2 separate regions of the Homo sapiens genome follow, and region 2 is linked to region 1. Evidence: promoter capture Hi-C in 16 types of primary human blood cells and fetal thymus (Javierre and others, 2016). All regions are on one chromosome and are shown on one strand. The core of a region is centred on a gene start or on the middle of the fragment in contact, and the rest is flanking DNA. Distances in the headings are between cores, read along the strand shown. Region 1 holds the start of KRT84 (keratin 84). Region 2 has its middle 15 kb from the start of KRT5.

Evidence for each region. Contacts are between HindIII fragments. The CHiCAGO score rates a contact against its expected background, and 5 or more counts as called.
Region 2: a contact is called between a fragment that was not itself captured here and the fragment with the promoter of KRT84 in region 1, in 2 of 17 cell types (M2 macrophages and M0 macrophages). The highest score is 7.1, in M2 macrophages.

What each region holds. Positions count from the first base shown.
Region 1 is chr12:52,384,052-52,387,202 of GRCh38, reverse strand. It overlaps KRT84 (keratin 84), which reads left to right and starts at 1,551. Exons shown (of 9, transcript NM_033045.4): 1 at 1,551-2,163. The coding sequence starts at 1,618. The HindIII fragment of the contact is 9,508 bases long and covers 1-3,151 here.
Region 2 is chr12:52,533,963-52,537,113 of GRCh38, reverse strand. No RefSeq gene overlaps it. Among named protein-coding and RNA genes, the nearest start is that of KRT5, 15 kb to the right of the region's middle. The HindIII fragment of the contact is 1,027 bases long and covers 1,221-2,247 here.

The DNA of each region.
Region 1 (3,151 bases), core at 302-2,801:
GCTTAGAAGACTGAAAAGAGTGTGGCAAGAAATCGAGAGAGTGTAGTGTCCGAAAATCAAAAGAAGAGCGTGTTTCAAGAGAAAGGGCATGGTCAGCTATGTGAAGAAAGTGAGAACTGAGGACAGACCATTGAATTTAACATGGAGGCCACTGGTGGTCTTGACGAGAAGTATGCACTTCTTATTGTTTTTCTGCTTCATTTCCCCCTTAGACATACAGCTGATAGCTGGAAAAAGAAAATACCGCACAAATGAGCTGGATGCTTCTGGTCAAAAGCATACATCCCCTTCCAAGTGGAATTGCAAGCATCCCAAAGAATCTCAAGCGTCCAGTCAAACATGAGTTCCCCTGGGCAAAGGATGCACTAGAATAGAAAAGGTAAACACCAGCCTGGCTCAGGGTCCTAAAAGAGCTGCAATATTGCTAACAATGATAATATTCAGCTGCTGAGAACTTTTCCTTTTCTATCCAGATGTATATTGCTTTGTGTCTCTCTATCCTAACCAAAGATTCATCAATAATTCAAGGAACCTAAATGGACAGGCCCATAAATCACACCTATGGTATATTTGGGGGCTAAAAATCATGTAGTTAGCTTTCTATACAGAAACTTTCCAATGCTTTGGCCTCAAATCATGCCACAAAGTGTTGACTGCTGGAAATCCTCAAGATAAATGTTCTGCTGGGCATGGTGGTGGATGCCTGTAGTCCCAGCTATCTGGGAGGCGGAGGCGGGAGGATCACTTGAGCCCAGGAGTTCAAGACCAGCCTGGGCAACTAGATCATGTCTCTAAAAAAAAAAAAAAAATTTAAGATAAATCTTCCCCTACTACCATGAAGATAGAGACTGTCTTTGTAATCTCTGTACCCTCAGCAGCAAGCACACTGCTGGATACATAGCAGGCACTCTAAAACTGTAGAATGAATGAATATCTCTGAGTGTCTCAAATCACAGATGTGTCTACACTAGCCCAAATGAGCTTTACTGTAGATTCAACTCTTGTATACTAAACAGCCATATTGGATAAAACATGGCAGAAGGTTTTTTGATGATTTAATTGATTTGCAGAAATGCAACAAACTGTATTTTCTCCATATCACTTCTTACTTGGAGATGTGCACACACTCCCACCTCTTTAGGGGGTTATATCTTCATGGATGCATCCCATGTGAGCCTCTTGCTGGAGCTGTCGCCATCCTAACTTTCTGGTGGTTAGCCACACTCACAGTGAAAAAACCTATTGCATTTATGACCAAAGCAAATTAATGTCCCCTTAATGGCAATTGTGGTAGACTTATAGGGAAAAAAAAGACTATAATGTTTATATGTTTATGTGTTTTTAATGTTTATTGGTTTGCTGTTACAGCCCTCATCCCAATGAGACTAGGTGTGTCTGAGTTAACTCATTGTCAAGGAGGTTATAGGCATGCAGAGTTTCTGCTAACTACCCAAGCTCATAAATGCCTGCAAATGGATTTTTTCATTTTTATGGGGCCAAGCCTCAGATCACCACACACATAAAAGGGGTGCAAGGGTTCCACTGGCCTCAGAGGGACTCCCAGCTCCAGCTCACCCATTCTACACTTGCTCTTTTGCTCCCAACCAGGAAGCCATCATGTCTTGCCGCTCCTACCGAGTCAGCTCTGGTCACCGGGTGGGCAACTTCAGCTCTTGTTCAGCAATGACACCACAGAACCTGAATCGCTTCCGGGCCAACTCTGTCTCCTGTTGGAGTGGGCCTGGATTCCGGGGCCTTGGCAGCTTTGGTAGTCGGAGTGTCATCACCTTTGGATCGTACTCACCCCGGATAGCAGCTGTAGGCTCTCGGCCCATCCACTGTGGAGTCCGCTTTGGTGCTGGCTGTGGGATGGGTTTTGGTGATGGGAGAGGTGTTGGTCTGGGGCCTAGGGCTGACAGCTGTGTTGGTCTGGGCTTTGGAGCTGGCAGTGGCATTGGCTATGGCTTTGGTGGCCCTGGCTTTGGTTACAGAGTTGGAGGGGTTGGAGTCCCAGCAGCCCCATCTATCACAGCTGTGACTGTGAACAAGAGCCTACTGACCCCCCTCAACCTGGAGATTGACCCCAATGCCCAGAGGGTGAAGAAGGATGAGAAGGAGCAAATCAAGACCCTCAACAACAAGTTTGCCTCCTTCATTGACAAGGTACCTATGATAGCTGAATCTCTGGGTCTAGGAATATTACAGCCAAAATGCGCTAGAGTGCTCTTTCCCTTAAAAAGAACTGGCCCGGTTCTGGGGACTTGACCTTGACCTCAGATCTTTCAAGTGCCTACCTCAGGCATTGTGGTATGCTTTATGGGTTGCTCTGCTGCAGAGCAAGGCCAAGCCAGAGGACGAGCTGCATGGTGGGATAGATTCCGACAGTGTTGATATCTTCTGGAGGACAGAGGAGCATCCAGCCAAACTCGAGGGCATCTCGACAAACTAAGATGTTGCATCTGGTCACTTAGAAATGTCTCTGAAACAGGCTGGAAACACTGGGACTTTAGCCAGGTGTTGGCTGGTATATGCTTAAGAGGTTTTATTCTTTGAGATCCTTTTGTTCCTTATGAAGTTTTCATAGTTTCTGAGGCTGAGTGGCCTCATCTATTCAGGCTTAGAAAAGTAGAGAATGGAGTTGAGTAATTAAAAAAAGAAGAAGAATTCATACCCCCACATGGGGTATCAAAATTCGGCCAAGTTGCCTAGATTCAGGGAAATTGCAGGGAATGACCACTGGTAGTCACTGGCTTCCAGGCAGATGAGTGGGAACAGTGATGTGGATAACCCAAAAGAACTGACATCCCACACACCATGTCTATGTGGAGATGGAATGGTTATGTCTGAGAATGAAGGATAACCTCTGTAAGTTTTGGGTTCTTCCTCTCTAAAATGAGGGGCTGGGGTAAAGGGTCTGTAAGTTCTCTTCCAGCTCTACACATAGCCAATGGAATATCTGCGATGTTGGATAGGACTTACAATCTGAGAATTCCTACCTCCCAGTACCATATCCCACCCCAAATGTAGTTTACTCTGCTCCCCATTCTCTGCCAGGGATGCCTGGCATCAGTTTTCAGATATAGGCAAACCAGAGCTTAAATAGAATCAACCCTTCCAACTTCCTGATGTACCAGTGTACAGCTTTCTTAGA
Region 2 (3,151 bases), core at 485-2,984, 150 kb before region 1:
ACACCTCTGAGACTCTGCGGATTTGGAAAATGAAGGAAGGGAAGGGACAGGCTGTCAGTGCCACAAAGGACAGGGCCTGGGCAATGGGCTCACAGGGTAGCGAGAGGGGTGGAGACAGTGGTGTGCTGGTAACTAAAGTGTGCTGCTGAGCCTAACAACCAGCTCTCTGAAAAAATGCATAGATGTGTATATATACAAATATATATACATGTAAATGTGTATTTATGTTTATGTTATAAGTTTACTAGAAGTTTTACTGCTATATTAGATATGTAGCATACAGTTTACAAATAATAATAAAATCTACAAGTCTTTTTTTTTTTTTTTTTTTGAGACGGAGGCTCGCTCTGTTGCCCAGGATGGAGTGCAGTGGCACCATCTCGGCTCACTGCAAGCTCCGCCTCCCAGGTTCAAGCCATTCTCCTGCCTCAGCCTCCCAAGTAGCTGGGACTATAGGCGCCCGCCACCACGCCCGGCTAATTTTTTGTATTTTTATTAGAGATGGGGTTTCACCATGTTAGCCAGGATGGTCTCGATCTCCTGACCTCATGATCCACCCACCTCGGCCTCCCAAAGTGCTGGGATTACAGGCGTGAGCCACCGTGCCCAGCCCTACAATACTCTTTATTATAAACTTGATACAGCCAAGTGACCCTCATGGAATGCTTTCAGTTGGCTTTTGACAAACTCTTATGCCCATGGCTGGCCAGTGGCTGCAACCAACAAACCAGCATAGCCCCCACATGAATGTTAGCTCCCATGTTCATCTTCACAGTTAAGATGAACGTGAAATGATGAAGATGAATGTTGGAACTTACTTGCTCCTCAATGATGTGAGTGACTTTTTGGCTGAATCAGATAATGGGTTTTAAATACCGGGATATTATTTTGTATTTTTTGGCTATTCATAATGTTATTATCAATGGGCACAACATACTTTTAATTTTAATCTACGTTATAAACATTTTCCCCATCACTTTATTAAATTTAGACCAGAGCTGTCCAGTAGAAATGCAATGAAAGCCACAGATATTATTTAAAATCTGCTAGTAGCCACATTTAAGGAATAGACTAAATTAATTCTAATATATTTGACATAATATATAGAAAACACTATTCTTTCAATAGATAATCAATATAAACATTTTTGATGATATATTTTACATTCTTTTCTTCCATTCTGAATCTTCAATATCCAGTACATATGACATATCTAAGCTTGGACTAGCCACATTTCAAGTGCTCAGTTAGCCACATGGAACTAGTGGCAGCTGTGTGAGGCTGTGCAGCTCCAGACAATCAACCAAACAATAAACCAAGCTCTGATTTGTAGTGCTTGCCAGTTCGCTTGGGGTAAATTCTCCCACAAAGGTGATTTCAAGCTACCAACATGATGTCACTGATTACAGGCTGGAAAGAGATGTGAACACCATGGTAGGGGATTTCTGCATGTAGATTCAATAAATGTCAACAACCACAAGAACTTTGATAATATATCAAAGTAAAGTATAATAAAATTAGAAAATGATGAGTTTTAAACATTTCTTCCCTTTGTTTTTAATGCAATGTATTTAACTATAATTTTACATAATTTAATTTGAATTATGGCTATGTTTAATAACAGCTCACAACGTTCTTCAAAATTTAACAATCGGCTTTTGCAAACCCTTTCAGTTTGCTCTACCACAACAGTAGTCAGATATAAGAACACAGGGAGGTCTTCAAATGAGACGTGGTTTTTTTGCAACGATCAAAATGGGATTTATGTTTAGTGAAACTTAACAGACACTTATTGAGGTACCATCTGGTACAGGGATGATGCTGGAGGGTTGGCGCAGGACAGGGTGGCTACAGAATGAACACAATGTGATTCTGGCCCTCAGAGGTATTAAGGTTCTAAGGAAGCACAGATGATCACAGTAATAATAATATGTGCAAGTTAAAATGGTGGCCCTGAGGGTTGTGGATCCCAGAGGTGGCAAGGTTAAAGGGCATTTGGGTTCCAGACCTGGCTCTGTCTCTAAGTCACTGCCTCATTTTGCCCTCAGTTTCCCTTCCTGTTAAATGAGGGGGTTGAGCTGGGTGAACCCCCAGGTTTCCGTCCAGCCTCCAAGGTGGGTCTTCCAATGTAGCGACTGAAGAGTGTGGCTTTCTGGATTAAAGGGCATTGGAGCTGGGCTTTAAAACACTGCCTTCTCCAATGTCAGGAACTGTGAAGGTAAAAGGGGCAGGAACATGAAAGAAGCTTTGGGAAGATGAGATCCCTGGGCTGAATGCAAAATAAAGAAGGAAGAGTAAAGGGGGTAAGTACCAGAGTTTTAGGGGTAGGAGTGATGTTAGAGTTTATCTAGAGATCTACTAGGCCAGGGCTTCAGATTACAGATGGGGAACCTGAGGCTTAGAGGCGTTAAATAACTTGCCCCAGGTGACGCAGCCAGAAGGTGGCAGAATCAGGTCCACGTGACTCTATACAGATAAGGATATATGCAATGTGTGCTTTTTATGCCCAAACTCACACCTTCGGGTGGCTATTCCATATAACAACTTATTTCTAAATGTTTGGGTCTAGGATAATCATGGATGAAACCAAAACTAAAATTTTTCTTCTTATATGAAGACGGTTGGGTCCAGGATGCTCAAAAGGATGTCCTGAGAAAATGGCATGGAATATGGGGCAAATTCTATGAAAATGCGTAAGGAAAATGTAAAAACTGATAAAGCTGATAAAGCAATTTGCTTACATGAGCCCCTGAGAAAGGTCGAGGTGTTTGGGTACCTCAGCTTTGCATCTGCTGTCAGGAGGCCCCAGCAGCTTCCTCTTTACATCTGAACGCTTAGCCCAGCTGGCCTGGTGTCAAGCAGAACACAGTCAGCAGGCCGGGAGCCCAGGCAGGCCTATCCCCTCCATGCTCCGAGACAAAGCCTCCACTTCTAAAATGTCTCCAGGCCAGTGGACCAAGAGGTTTGAGTCTCCCACAGACGGACCCAGTAGGCCAGGCTCAGTTGGAGATTTTAATTTTGGACTCGTCAGAGTTCCAGAACTCTGGAATGTGGCAGCATGGAGAGAATTCCCAGCTCCTGGCCTGCAGCCTGCCCCTTTCTCTTCCTACCCCTGGCTTTGCTCCCTTGCCTACACAACCACAATCTGCAG